Linked DNA regions of Homo sapiens: all the other regions are linked to region 5. Evidence: promoter capture Hi-C in human tissues and cell types (Jung and others, 2019). All regions are on one chromosome and are shown on one strand. Each heading gives the region's core, a stretch centred on a gene start or on the middle of the fragment in contact. The rest is flanking DNA. Distances are from core to core; before and after follow the strand shown.

Region 1 (2,700 bases), core at 134-2,633, 340 kb before region 5:
AGGCCTGTTTATCTACATCATAGGCTTTCTTTTCATTCCAAGTGATTCTTCACATCATTGATTGTCTGATGAAGAGCATCCTCCTTTGTGGACCTCTGGAAGGACAGCCTTTCAGATTCCCCTCAGAACTGCAGTTGTCTGTCTCTGTACTCTTTCAGATAACCAACTTATCATCCATATCAAAACAGAAAAATAAGATTAAGTATTTTATATGTGTCATGCAAAATTCTTGTATAGGAATACTTTCGATTTGTAGATATAAACATTCTAAGGTGTTTGATGTTTAGTATCATGAAGGGTTAAACTAAAAAGTTTAATGGGACATTTTACAGAGAACTGCTCTCACTTCACTCCAAGTGCAAATTCGGCAGTTTTTCAAAACTACCTTCACATTCAATAATTTCCTAGAAAGACCCTCAGAACTCACTGGATGTATTTATTCTCACAGTTACTGATTTTTACAAGCAAAAGATGCATATTATAGTTAACCAAGGGGGAAAAACCAAATAAGACAGAGTCCAGTGAAGTACCAAATGTGGATCTCCTATTGTATTCTCACAGTAGAGTCGGGCATGTTACATACCCAAAATTAGCATGTGACTTAGACACAAGGAACCACCAATCAGGGAAACTCAACTGAGTGCTGGGATCCAAGTAATTATTGGGGCTCCATTACATAGCCATAATTGGTTGGTTGATTCCTGTGTGGTTATTTAGTCTTTTGGTCCACTGGTTCCCTGTGACCTAAAGACCTACATTAAATCACATCGTTATTTTTTCTGACATGGGGAATGCCACCTGCCATTTCCCATCCCCCAAAGCTGTGGCTAGTCACAACCCTAAATTATATTATTTCACTGTCAAGAGTTACCCAAGATTTGCCCCCAAGCAAACAGAGAGACTCTCCTCAGGCATGCCCCTTCAAGATTCTACAGATTACCTCTCAGATACTGAGGACAAAGTCCTGACCTCTTTTTAGTTAGGTTAACTCCTTTTCTTATTTTTAAAAATGTTTTTTAAGCCATCTTAAACTGAAAGGAAGGTTAACTTCTTTATAAGGATATATAATATACAGGCAAATATACGAAGTATTTATTATGTTACTGCTTTCCCTTAGAGTTCCTTTTGATTCATATTTCATTACGTACATAATAGTTTAGTAATTTATCATGTAAAATTTCAGACTGAGTTGGAAATTTTAAAAACAGTAACAGGTTAAATGTATGTGTCATATTAATTTTTTATTAAACCTTTTATTTCTATCAATGATTTTTTATTTGAAATGTGGTATGTTTTTTTCTTTCTTTTCTTTTTTTTTTTTTTTTTTGAGGCAGAGTCTCACTGTGTCGCCCAGGCTGGAGTGCAGTGGCACGATCTCGGCTTGCTGCAACCTGCGCCTCCTGGGTTCAAGCAATTCTCCTGCCTCAGCCTCCCAAGTATCTGGGATTATAGGTGTGTGCCACCACACCTAGCTGATTTTTGTATTTTTAATAGAGACGGGGTTTCACTATGTTGGTCAGGCTGGTCCCGAATTCCTGACCTCAAGTGATCTGCCTGCCTCAGCTTCCCAAAGTGCCTTGGTCTCCCAAAGTGCTGGGATTATGGGTGTGAGCCACCGTCCCCAGTGACATGGTATGGTTTTAGATTACTCTCATGCAAACCAGAAACCAGGGTGCACTTGGAAAACACAAACTGAACATTCGTTGAAGTTTCATACCATGTCCTAAGTGTGAACTCTTAAAAACACTGAACAGGGCATAGCTTGTCCTGATCTCTTAATTTTGTATTCTGATAGGAGGCAAGATCCAACCTGAGATGAAGACTTTTCCAGAAGCAGGACCACATGAAGGGTGGTCCTGCCAGCAGATCTGGGAAGAAATTGCAAGTGATTTAACCAGGCCTCAAGACTCTACCATAAAGAGCTCTCAGTTCTTTGAACAGGGTGATGCCCACTCCCAGGTTGAGGAAGGACTATCTATAATGCACACAGGACAGAAACCTTCCAATTGTGGGAAGTGTAAACAATCCTTCAGTGATATGTCCATCTTTGATCTTCCTCAGCAAATACGCTCAGCAGAGAAGTCTCATTCCTGTGATGAGTGTGGAAAAAGCTTCTGTTACATCTCAGCGCTTCATATTCATCAGAGAGTCCACCTGGGAGAGAAACTCTTTAAGTGTGACGTGTGTGGTAAGGAATTCAGTCAGAGTTTACATCTGCAAACTCATCAGAGAGTCCATACTGGAGAGAAACCTTTCAAATGTGAACAATGTGGGAGAGGCTTCAGATGTAGATCAGCACTTACAGTTCATTGCAAATTACACATGGGAGAGAAACATTATAATTGTGAGGCATGTGGGAGGGCCTTCATTCATGATTTCCAGCTTCAGAAACATCAGAGAATTCACACAGGGGAGAAGCCATTCAAATGTGAGATATGTAGTGTGAGCTTCCGTCTTAGGTCAAGTCTTAATAGGCATTGTGTGGTCCACACAGGAAAGAAACCAAACAGCACTGGGGAATATGGAAAAGGCTTCATTCGTAGGCTGGATTTGTGTAAGCATCAGACGATCCACACAGGAGAGAAACCATATAATTGTAAAGAATGTGGGAAGAGCTTCAGACGGTCCTCCTATCTTTTGATCCATCAGCGAGTCCACACTGGAGAAAAGCCATACAAATGTGACAAGTGTGGGAAGAGC
Region 2 (2,700 bases), core at 176-2,675, 470 kb before region 5:
ATATGAACTACTAATATTGCTTAAAATTAAATGAGAATTCTTTCAAAATTTTCTAAAGTCTAAACTCAACCTTGCTTTCAAAATCTTCTACAGTAAAATTCCAACCTCCCTCCCCAACTTGATCTCAAATGGCTCCTCTGCAGCCAGTTTCCTATGATTATTTATATGGATCATTTATCTATTTTATTTCCTAATTCTAAATTGGGATTTCAAACTGTGAGACCAAGGGTATTCAGATGTAAGGAACCCAAGTCTAGGACACAAATCCCACTGTTCTTACTAGCACTGTGATATAGGAAAGTAAATTAGGCTCTCTCCATTTCCTCATCTGTATAATTGGTGTAATAACAGTACCCATATCACAATACCCACATCACCTTTGTAAGGTGAACAGAACCCACAACACAAGGCCTTTGTGAAGGTTCAGTGTGTTAGTTTTTATAAAGCCCTCAGAGTGATACTCAGCACCCAATGTTTAACTAGTGTGACTAATATTCATGTCACATTTTCTCCAATTATACAATAACGGAACACTTCTGTAGCAGAAACATTTGCAAGGAATGAAATACCTTCTCGCACTCGGAACAGAAGAGGAAGGTGAATGCTAGGTCCTGTCACAGTGGGGCTCTGCTGCCAGAAGCCAGGATGCTCTCCTTCCTCCTCTCCCGCAGCATTCTTTCAGAAGTCAGGGCAGGGGAAGGAAAGGAGGCTGGGAGATTGCACGATCTTGTCTGAGATCCTGGAAAATCCACAGAGGATAACTCCAGACGCCACCTGTTGAGTGATGCACTCTTTCTTAAAAAACGGGTCAGGCATAGTCCAAGAACAGCCTCCTTTCCTGCAGGAATCAGAAAGAAGAGCCAGGCGCTTGCTGAAAAATGAATATTTTTTATTATGATAGTTTTAATATTAACGGCCGACATGTTGCCACATTCCTGTACTATTCCATACACATTTTACTTGTACTATATTACTAATTGTCAAAACAAATATATAAGGTTAATATTTCCTTTTGCAGAAGAGGAAACTAAGACCAGAAACTAAGCACCGAAAGATTAAGTTCTCACCCAACGTTACACCGCTAGGAAGCTACAGAGCTGTGGGAGGTGGGGGAAGGCGGGTCGGGCCGCTGAGAGCCCAGGAGATCCTCAGACGCCTCCCCATTCAGGTCCACTTCCAACCAGGGGACTCCCGAACCGCCCCGAACGCAGCAGCTCCGGATACAGTAAGGCAATCAGCTGCCCAGCCATTCAACTCCGCCCTCCGCTGCTCGCCGCAGCGTCTTTTCCTGCTGACCGAAGTGCGAGCCCTGCTGATCCTACGACCAAACCATAAAAGTTAAAACAGGTCGCGGGGTCCCAGGACTCACTCACTTCCACGAGAGGAATGAAGGCCGCGCTCTCAACCTCTTGCCGCGGAAGTGCCCGGGAGAGCAGGGAGCTCTGGAACTACATTTCCCAGCATCCCCGGGAGGAACGGAAGCCGCTGCCCCGCCCCCTGGGCGGAAGTGCGGGCTTCGACTCCCACGGCCGAATCTTATTTCTCAGAATCCCCAAGGGGAGCGGGCTTCGTGTTCTCGTCCTCAAATAGTCGAAGTACCACCGAACCCACTGAGCACTGGGGTATAGGTTCCTATTTCCCCAGGGGAGCAAATAACAAAGCCGCGCTTTCCCAGAGCTGAAGTGCCCCCAAAAGTCTGGACCACACGTCCCAGAATCCTCTGTAGGGCTGAGCTTCCCGCCAGCCTGCAATTTTCCTTTTGAATTAGCGGGGGGAGTCTAAGTCATTGCTTGTAGAGCTCAGCCTGCTTTTTCCTTTTGCCATTGTTCCCTTTTATACGTGACAGAAGTTGCGAATATGAAAAAAAAAAAGGAAAATACAAAGGAATGCTATGTGTGAGCTAAAAACAGAGGTAATAAAAGAGGTGGCCAGAGCCGCCCAGAGCAACAAGCCTTTTATAATATGGGTATGGATTCATCTGTGATTAAAAATGCTCAAAAAAGGAGATGCAATCATCCAGCAGGACATGAAACAAAAGCAGCAAAATTCTCCACTTTTCTTGCGCTTAGTTTTCTTTCATTCGCAGGATACTGAAGAAAGTATTATAGTATTGAATAGGCTCTATCCTATATAAAATCTTGAAAACATTCAGTTCAGATTAAGGAATCACATCACTTCTTGCTCTCAGAATCAGGAATCTGTAAAGGTGTCTTATGATTTGCCAAAGTGTCTATGAATATTCAGTAAGGAGAGGGAGGTGAAGTGAGGGATTAAGACATGAAGTGCAAAAAATACAGAAAGCTATACTATTCACTTTTCTCCTAGGTAGAAACTAAATATTTTTCCAAGTTTATTATGAAAGGGTAAAGAAGAAAAAATGGAAGTTGACTACATAGGAGTAGCTGTAAACATCTGAACAATGTTCAATTTAGGCTGAGGCAGGAGACCAGCAGGGCGTGATTCCAAGATCAGATAAGAAACCTGCTGAAACCAGCAAGTGATGGAAAGCAACCTGTAAGTTCCCTTTGCTACCTATCAGTATAAGACACTCCCACCAGCGCCGTGACGGTTTATAAATGCCATGGCAACACCTGGAAGTTACCAACCCCTTTTCTAGAGATTTCCGAGTAACTCACCCCTTAATTTGCATGTAATGAAAAGTTGGTATAAATATACCCAGCCAACAGCCCATATGCTGCT
Region 3 (2,700 bases), core at 157-2,656, 510 kb before region 5:
AACTTGAAAATGTAGATGAAATTTTAAAATTCCTTGAAAACACAATTTGAACTGATATAAGAAATTGAAAATCTAAATATTGTTTTATTTATTAAAGAAATTAAATCTGTATTAAGGATCTTCTCACAAAAATAATGTCAGGCCAAGAGGATTCAGTAGCAAATTCTCCCAAACATTTAAGAAATTAAAAATGCCAATCAAACTCAACTTGTTCTAGAAAATAGAAAAAAACAAACTATGTCATAAGGCCAGAATAACTGTGATATCAAAACCAGATGAGGATATTACATAAAAGGAAAATTACAATATATCTGTTTCATGAACACAGACGCAAGCATATTAAACCAAATATTAGCAAAGAGAAACCAGTAACATATTGACCAAGAGAGCTTTATTTTAGAAATTCAAAGGCCATTTAATTTAATTTTTTACCATAACCTCAAACAAGTATAAGTTTAATTTTTAAAAAATCAATGTAATCTTTCAATGTTAACTAATAAAGGAGAAAACCATTCAATTATTTCATTAGAAATAATCCATTTAACAATATACAACATTAATCATGATAAAAATTCTCAGCAAACCAGGACTAGAGGGGAACTTCTTTCATCTGATAAAGGGGACCTAAAGAATAAAAACTACAACTACCATTGTACATAAAGGGATCATTATACATAATATGGACCACTGTCTTTCTGATTTCAGGAACAAGGTAAGGTTGTCTACTCTTACATGTCTTTTCAATTTTGTAGTAGAAGACCTATCCAATATTATAAGGAAAAAATAAAAGGTGTAAATGGAAGGAAGTAAAATGATCTTTATTTGCAGATAGTGTAGATTACATGATTATGTACATAAAAATATTTTTTAATTCCACAAGCTTTAAATTAAATAATTTATTGCTGAATAAAGGGTAAAAGTATAAAACAATTATATTAAAGCAAAGCTACTGAAAAATAAAATTTTTAAAACCTTAACAGTTTGTAAAAACATAAAAAATGTAAAACAGGAATAAATTTAACAGATGTGCAAGACCTTTAGACAGGAAACAACAAAACCTTAAGGAAAGAAATTAAAGATGAATTCAATAAATGGAAATGTATTCCATGTTCATGAACTGTAAGACTCAATTTTGAGATAATTCTCTCTAAATTTATCTACTGATTCAATGTACTGCCAACAAAATGTCAGCAGGGCGTTTTGTTTGTTTTGAGAAAATTAATTAACTCATTCTAAAATTATAGAGCAATGCAAAGAACCTGGAATAGACAAAGTGATTTTGAAGAACAAAGTTGTTCTTCAACTTATATTACCAGATTATCAAGATATAATATAAAGCTACAGGAATTAAAATGGAGGTGCTGGCACAAAGATTGACAAAGAGGACCAACGGAAAAGTAGAAAGACTCCTGCACATATATGGGCCCATGCTTTACAGTAAAAGTCTGACTGCAGCTTAAGAGAAGGCCAGTGTTTTTAACAAACGGTGCCAGTGCACTTGGATATCTGTATGAAAAAAATGATTTTGAACTTCATCCCACTACATACACAGATATAAATTCAAGATGGATCATAGGTCTAAGTGTGAAAACAAACAATAAAGATTCTGGAGGAAGAAACAGAAAAATAACTTTGTGGTCTTGGGATAGATAAAATTTTCCTTTTTTTTTGTTTTAACTTTTAATTTCCACTTATTTTAGACTTAGAGAAAAGTTGCAAGAGTAGTACAGAGGGTTCTCATATACCCTTCATTCTAGCGTTTATCTTACATAACCAAAGGATAATTATCAAAACCAGGAAATTAACATTGGTACAATACGAAAAATTTGCACATCTTATTCAAATATGTTTTCCCATTAATGTCCTTTTTCTTTTCCAGGATCCCACACATTAATCTACGTTGCATTTAGCTGTTATTTCTCTTTAGTCTCTTCCGATCTCCTTAGACTTTCTTACTGCATTAATTTTCAGTTGCTACCATAACCAATTACCACGAATTTAGCTTAAAACAACATAAATATATAAAATCTCACAGTTTCCATGGACCTGGAGTTTAGCTGGGTGCTGTCCTCAGGCTGGTCTCACAGGCTGCAAACGAGGGGTTACCTGGGCTGTGTTCTCCTCTGGAGTTCAACTGGGGGAGAATTCATTTCCAGGTTCATTCAGATTGTAGGGAGAATTCATTTCCCTGTGGCCATACGACTGAGGGCCTCACCTTTTTGCTGACTGTTGGCTGGAGGTTGCCCTCAGGTTCTGCAGGCCACCTGCAGTTCCTTTGCAAGATGGGCTTCTCCAACATTGCCACTTACTTCATCAAGCCCACAAAAGAAGTCCAATCTGCTATGAGTCTTATATGGTATAACATAATCACAGTAGAGACATCTCGTCACTTTTTTTTTTCATATGATAGGTTTATTTTTATTATTTTAAGGAACCTTCATACTGTTTTACATAATGGCTATACCAATTGATATTGCCATCAACAGTGTACAAGTGTTCCCTTTCCTCTACATCCTCACCAACACTTATCTATTTTCTTTTCTTTTCTTTTTTTTTTTTGAGACGGAGTCTTGCTCTGTCACCCAGGCTGGAGTGCAGTGGCGCGATCTCAGCTCACTGCAAGCTCCGCCTCCCGGGTTCACGCCATTCTCCTGCCTCAGCCTCCCGAGTAGCTGGGACTACAGGCGCCTGCCACCGTGC
Region 4 (2,700 bases), core at 85-2,584, 440 kb before region 5:
TTTCTGGAAGCTTGAACTTAAGAGTGATAACTTAGGGTACCTGGCAAAAGAAATTTCTGAGCAGCAAAGCATTCAAGAAGTGGCCTGGCTGCCTCACTGCTTCAAACAGCCTACAATTATATATGGGAGCAAAAAAATGACTTAAAGTTGGAATTTATATTTAAAAGGTAAGCAGAGTATAAAAGTTTGGAAAATTTGCAGCCTGGCCATTTAGTAGAGAAAGAAAAAGCATTTTTAGGAGAGGAATACATGTCGGCTGTGGAGCAACCACTCGCAAAAGAGATTTGCATGACTAACAGAAAGCCAAGTGGTAATATCTGAGACAATGGGAAAAAGACCTGGAAGACATTTCAGAAGTCTTCAGGAAAGTCCCTCCCATCACAGGCCTAGGGGCCTAGGAGAAAAGAATGGTTCCAAGGGCCAGGCCCAGGGACCCCCTGCCCTGAGCAGCCTCAAGACATTGTGCCCTGAATCCGGCCACTCTGGCTCCAGCCTCAGCTTAGAGTGCCCCAGGCGCAGGCTGGGTTGCAGCTCCAGAGGGTTCAAGCCTTGATAGTTGTGGTAGTTTCCACATTGTGTTAAGGCTGCAGATGCTCAGAATGCAAGCATGAAGGAGGCTTGGCAGCTTCTACCTAGATTTCAAAGGATGTATGAGAAAGCCTGGGATCCCAGTCAGAAGCCTGCCACAGTGGGGGAGCCCCAACAGAGAACCTCTACCAGGGCAGTGCCAAGGAGAAATGTGAGGGCTCCCCACAGAGTCCCCACTAGGGCACTACCTAATGGATCTGTGGTAAGGGGACCACTGCCCTCTGAGAAGTGGTCCTGAGACCACTGCTCAGTCATATCACTTGGCTGCCCAAGGCCTTGGGAGTCTATCTCTTATACCAGGATGTGGGACATGGAGTCAAGGATTATGTTGGAGCTTTAAGAGCCCTGGCTGGAGTACAGTAGCACAATCCTAACTTGCTGCAGCCTTTAACTCCTAGACTCAAGCTATCCTCCTGCCTCAGCCTCCCAAGTAGCTGGGATTACAGGCTCAAGCCACAGCACCTGCCTCTTCATATGCTCTTTACCCAAATTTTCCAATTATTTACATTTTGTATTTTGCTTTGTTAACACCCATCAGCCAAATACCACTGGGAACAAACTTATAATGAGAAACAACTTATTGTAGCTTTCTGCATCAAGGAACCCCACATAGCAAGGTGATCATGGAGTGTCTTGGTAAGAGGCATTTAGGAAGGGCTGGCTATAGAGTTTCATATAAGATGCTAGGTAGTATTAGATATAATATTAAGTAATATCACTATTAAATACTAGATATCAATTAAAAGACTATTAATATTAGTTAATTCTGTTACCTATTAGATATGGCTAGACACCATCATCTTTTCTATCCAAACTCCCATATTTAAATTTGTTGTGCTTTTTAAAGTTCTTGTAACTGTTTTCCCCCATCCCCCAGTCCAAAGTCCAATTTTATGTACTGCTTTTAGGTGTCACATTTCTGTAGTCTTCTTTAATCTAGAAAGATTCAACAGGCTTTGTCTTTTTATTCTTGACATCCTTGAAGTATATAGGCAAAGTATTTTATAGAAAGATAGTCATTTGGGATTTATGTATTTCATGTTTAGGTTCAGATTATGCATTGTTGGTGTGGATACCACAGAAGTGTTGAAGTGTCATAACAGGGGCCAAATGATGTCTGTTTTTCCCTTCATTGGAGATCTCAACTTTGTTCACTTGGCCAAGATGATATCTTTCAGATTTTTCCACTGAAAGGTTACTTTTTAATTAAATTTTGAAAATAAAAACGTTTCTTACGGGAGATACATTATTAGTGGGCATTATCCTGTAAAGATTAGCTTCCACTTCTCCCTGATTTATTAATCAGTTTCTTCAACTATAAATATTCTATCAATATGGACCCACAATCCAGTTAAATAACATGTAGATTAACTGTTATTATTTCCAACTTTATTGAGGTGTATTTTACATGTCATAGAATTTACCCATTTCAGTCGTACGATTTAATAATCTTCAGGAACTTTGAACAGTGGTGTGACCGTCATCATAATTCAGTTTAGATCATTTTCGCCCCCCAATTGGACTCCTTGTGCTTATGTACAGTTAAACCTCATTCTCACCTCAAATCTGGAGCAACCACTAACCTACTTTCTCTATATATACATTTGCTTATTCTGGATATTTTATAAAATTGAATTTTACAATCCATGGGGTTTTTAGACTGGCTTCTTTAACTTAGCATAATGTTTCCAAGGTTCATACATGTTGTAGCATGAGCCAGTTCTTCACTCCTTTGAATTTCCAAATAAAATTCTGTTGTATGGATATGCCATGATTTGTCTATTCATTTACCCGTAGGAGGGCATTTTGCTTGTTTGCAGTTTGGGGTTATGAGTAATGCTGCTATGAACATTCATGTGCTAATTGAAAATACTTGTCTATGTTGGTGGTCGGCATTCCTAGTTACCATTTCCTGTCTGTTTTTCTGCCTTTCCTGGCACTTTCCAGGCATGATTTCACCTTCACTTGAACTGCTTCATTCAGGACTCTGCAAATTCCCTGAAGTAGAAGGAAAAATGACCACATTCAAAGTGAGTAGGGCTTGCCTCTCTTGCTGTTAAAATTCCATCTTACTACTCATATTGTCACATTTTTATCTGTCTTGGGAAGACT
Region 5 (2,700 bases), core at 154-2,653:
CACACAAATGCCTTTCTCATCCCTCACCCTGACAACTACTCTGATCTGAGGAATGCATCAGGAATGAGACCAGATGCCCATATCAACTTCTTCAGGGAATGAAGACCTAGAGGAAAAGTGCAGCTGAATCTGGAACTGCAATTGCCCAGAAACACGATCAGAAATGTAATAAATGCTGCTATTACACCTAAAATAATTAACACTAAATCTCTAACTTTATCAAATATACAGAGAGTGTTCAAACTTCAAATTTGTTGAGTGTAATTTAACAACTTATATTTGCTAATGTGCTTTATAATACTCAAAGTCCCTACTCCCTGGCTCACAGCATGTGAGGTGAGAATGGAGTTAATAATTTGGGGCAGTTCTTTTCTTTTCTTTTTTCTTTGAGACAGAGTCTGGCTCTGTCGCCCAGGCTGGAGTGCAGTGGCGTGATCTCAGCTCACTGCAAGCTCCGCCTCCCGGGTTCACGCCATTCTCCTGCCTCAGCCTCCCGAGTAGCTGGGACTACAGGCGCCTGCCACCGTGCCCGGCTAATTTTTTGTAATTGTTTTTTGTAGTAGAGACGGGGTTTCACCGTGTTAGCCAGGATGGTCTCGATCTCCTGACCTCGTGATCCGCCCACTTTGGCCTCCCAAAGTGCTGGGATTACAGGCGTGAGGCACCGCGCCAGGCCTGGGACAGTTCTTTTCAAAATGTATTCGGTGACATTAAACTCTGGAGTTATTACAGTATTACAGTCTGAGTTGTTTCTTTATTGCCAAAAGCCAGAACCTCTGCCTTGAAGTCATAAATGCCCCAATGGAGTCAGAGCTGCCAAAATCCAGAGTTCAGACCCAAGACAACTCCCCATCCAAGAACCTAGGGGTGCTGAGCCAGAATCGCCCCCACCAAACTGAGCGAGAACAGCCGAAGCCATCCTCTATATCCAGAGACTAGCTGCTTAAGCAAATCCCTCATCCCATTCAGGGACGCACAGTCCAGCCATTACTCCAAAACCCTGAGCCAGCGCCCCTCTGCCCTCATCCAGAGATGCACATCCCAAGACTGACCCTAAGCTTCGACCCGAGGAGGCACAGCGCAAGTCGCTGTCACGAAACGTGAAGATGCACTGTTTTGTCAAACCCAGGGCTGCTCCCCAAACCGAGCCCACGCTCGAGCCCACGCTCTTCCCATCCTATCCCGGGTAGGTCGGGCCGCTGAACTTCCCTAGTCTACCCCACCTACGAGGCCTTATCATTGGTTACCAGTCCCCTCTTCCACTCCTCCTACTTCAGTCCACAGGGACGGGTCACAGCTGCACATCCTACACTCCTACTCCTGGCTACGCCTCCAAGAGGGGCGCGGTACAGACGGGACTCACCCCAGCGTCCCAAACAATGTCGCCCGCAGCGTGCGTCCAGTACCATGGCGCATGCGCAAGGAGGCCTATGGCCTACAATCCCCAGAAAGCCCCGCGCGCAGCAGTGGCCATTCGCAAGGCTACCCTGGTGAAGGTGGCCTTTGACTTCCGTGCATTTGGAAGTCCTTTGACTTCCGTGCATTCGTCTAAAATAACGACAATCATAATAACGATAAAATAATGAAATGTTAAATAAATCACTATCAACGATGAAAAGAAGTTTCAATATTTTACTACTTGGAAATGGGCACTTTACCGTTTTAGTGAAGACTTTTATAAGTTCTTATTTTATAGGCATGTCTTTTAACGTTAAAACCACGAAACTTTTCAATTAACACTCACTTAAATAATTCCCTCCCCGCCCCCCACCATGTTTTATTTCTGTTGATGAAAACTCTGGATAATCTACACTTGCGATATAACATAGCCCTGTAATTTATTTCCTAGTCTCAGAAGAAGCAGAAGGAATTAACAACTATTGTCTGAATCCTTAACAGGGGAATTGCAGGAGTACTGAGAGTGTCCTAAAAGAGACACATTACAACATAACAAGAAAACGCGGGAAGTTTTCAGATTCTTTTTGAAAATTTGCCCTTGTTGAGACTTAGGCTTTATTTTACTTCATGTTATTGCATTTAAGATTTAAGATTTCTATTAAAGAAAAATTTGGGTACCCTAAATGGGGTAAGAAAATTGAATAGGAATTCCATTAGAGGCCCACAGTTTTAGCCTGGAGGAAAGCCCTGATAACGTGTGAGAACAATCTGTCTCCTAGGAAAGGTCACCTGGTCCTGCTGGCAGAGTCTCTGTTTGGAATATCTGGCTGGCATTCCCTTTTCCACGCACCCTCAAGCTGTAGGGGTGGTGAGGCGGTTCCAGTCCTAGACTAGATAGAGAAGTGAAGACCCCCACCTCTACGCAATGGGCAGGAAATGGTTGAATAATATCCAACTATAGCTTGACATCGCAGCTTAGGGCACATAAAGGGACAGTGCAATTGTTTTGGCTTATCTCTGTCTTTTGATGTTTACATGTTTGATGTTCTTATATATTGCTCTAAGTTGAAGGATTACTTGATTTAATTTGACATACTTGAATTTTAAAAAACGAGTTCAGGAACATTTTTATTTTTGACCTAATACAAGGTTAATTTTTGTGACATCTGTGTCTGTTGGAAAACAATGTGTCTTCTCTATCAGATGGATATGCATACATTTATATTTTCCCCAGACTTGCTAACTGTGCTATTTAAATTTCCTACATGCTTATTTGTGCTTACTTAGATTTTTTCATTATGC

What was found. The method cuts DNA at HindIII sites, captures the fragments that hold promoters and counts their contacts. A contact is called where the count stands out against the background at its distance.
Region 1: a contact is called between a fragment that was not itself captured here and the fragment with the promoter of ZNF285 in region 5, in 2 of the 25 tissues and cell types used here (dorsolateral prefrontal cortex and spleen).
Region 2: a contact is called between the fragment with the promoter of ZNF45 here and the fragment with the promoter of ZNF285 in region 5, in 2 of the 25 tissues and cell types used here (dorsolateral prefrontal cortex and mesendoderm cells).
Region 3: a contact is called between a fragment that was not itself captured here and the fragment with the promoter of ZNF285 in region 5, in 4 of the 25 tissues and cell types used here (bladder, dorsolateral prefrontal cortex, pancreas and 1 more).
Region 4: a fragment that was not itself captured here is called in contact with the fragment with the promoter of ZNF285 in region 5 in 5 of the 25 tissues and cell types used here (dorsolateral prefrontal cortex, heart left ventricle, hippocampus and 2 more).

The regions. Positions count from the first base shown.
Region 1 is chr19:44,064,269-44,066,968 of GRCh38, forward strand. It overlaps ZNF223 (zinc finger protein 223), which reads left to right. Exons shown (of 5, transcript NM_013361.6): 5 at 1,796-2,700. Among named protein-coding and RNA genes, the nearest start is that of ZNF284, 6.5 kb to the right of the region's middle. The HindIII fragment of the contact is 6,488 bases long and covers 1-2,700 here.
Region 2 is chr19:43,933,857-43,936,556 of GRCh38, forward strand. It overlaps ZNF45 (zinc finger protein 45), which reads right to left and starts at 1,426. Exons shown (of 10, transcript NM_003425.4): 1 at 1,068-1,426; 2 at 570-838. ZNF45-AS1 (ZNF45 antisense RNA 1) reads left to right here. Exons shown (of 3, transcript NR_184050.1): 3 at 1-1,958. The HindIII fragment of the contact is 9,817 bases long and covers 1-2,700 here.
Region 3 is chr19:43,891,007-43,893,706 of GRCh38, forward strand. LOC100505715 (a long non-coding RNA gene) reads right to left here. Exons shown (of 3, transcript NR_038334.1): 3 at 798-2,134. Among named protein-coding and RNA genes, the nearest start is that of ZNF404, 8.4 kb to the left of the region's middle. The HindIII fragment of the contact is 7,085 bases long and covers 1-2,700 here.
Region 4 is chr19:43,960,190-43,962,889 of GRCh38, forward strand. ZNF221 (zinc finger protein 221) reads left to right here. Exons shown (of 5, transcript NM_001297588.2): 2 at 2,536-2,618. The coding sequence starts at 2,538. Among named protein-coding and RNA genes, the nearest start is that of ZNF221, 10 kb to the left of the region's middle. The HindIII fragment of the contact is 7,430 bases long and covers 1-2,700 here.
Region 5 is chr19:44,400,205-44,402,904 of GRCh38, forward strand. ZNF285 (zinc finger protein 285) reads right to left here and starts at 1,404. Exons shown (of 4, transcript NM_152354.6): 1 at 1,364-1,404. RefSeq lists an enhancer at 801-1,557. The HindIII fragment of the contact is 9,713 bases long and covers 1-2,700 here.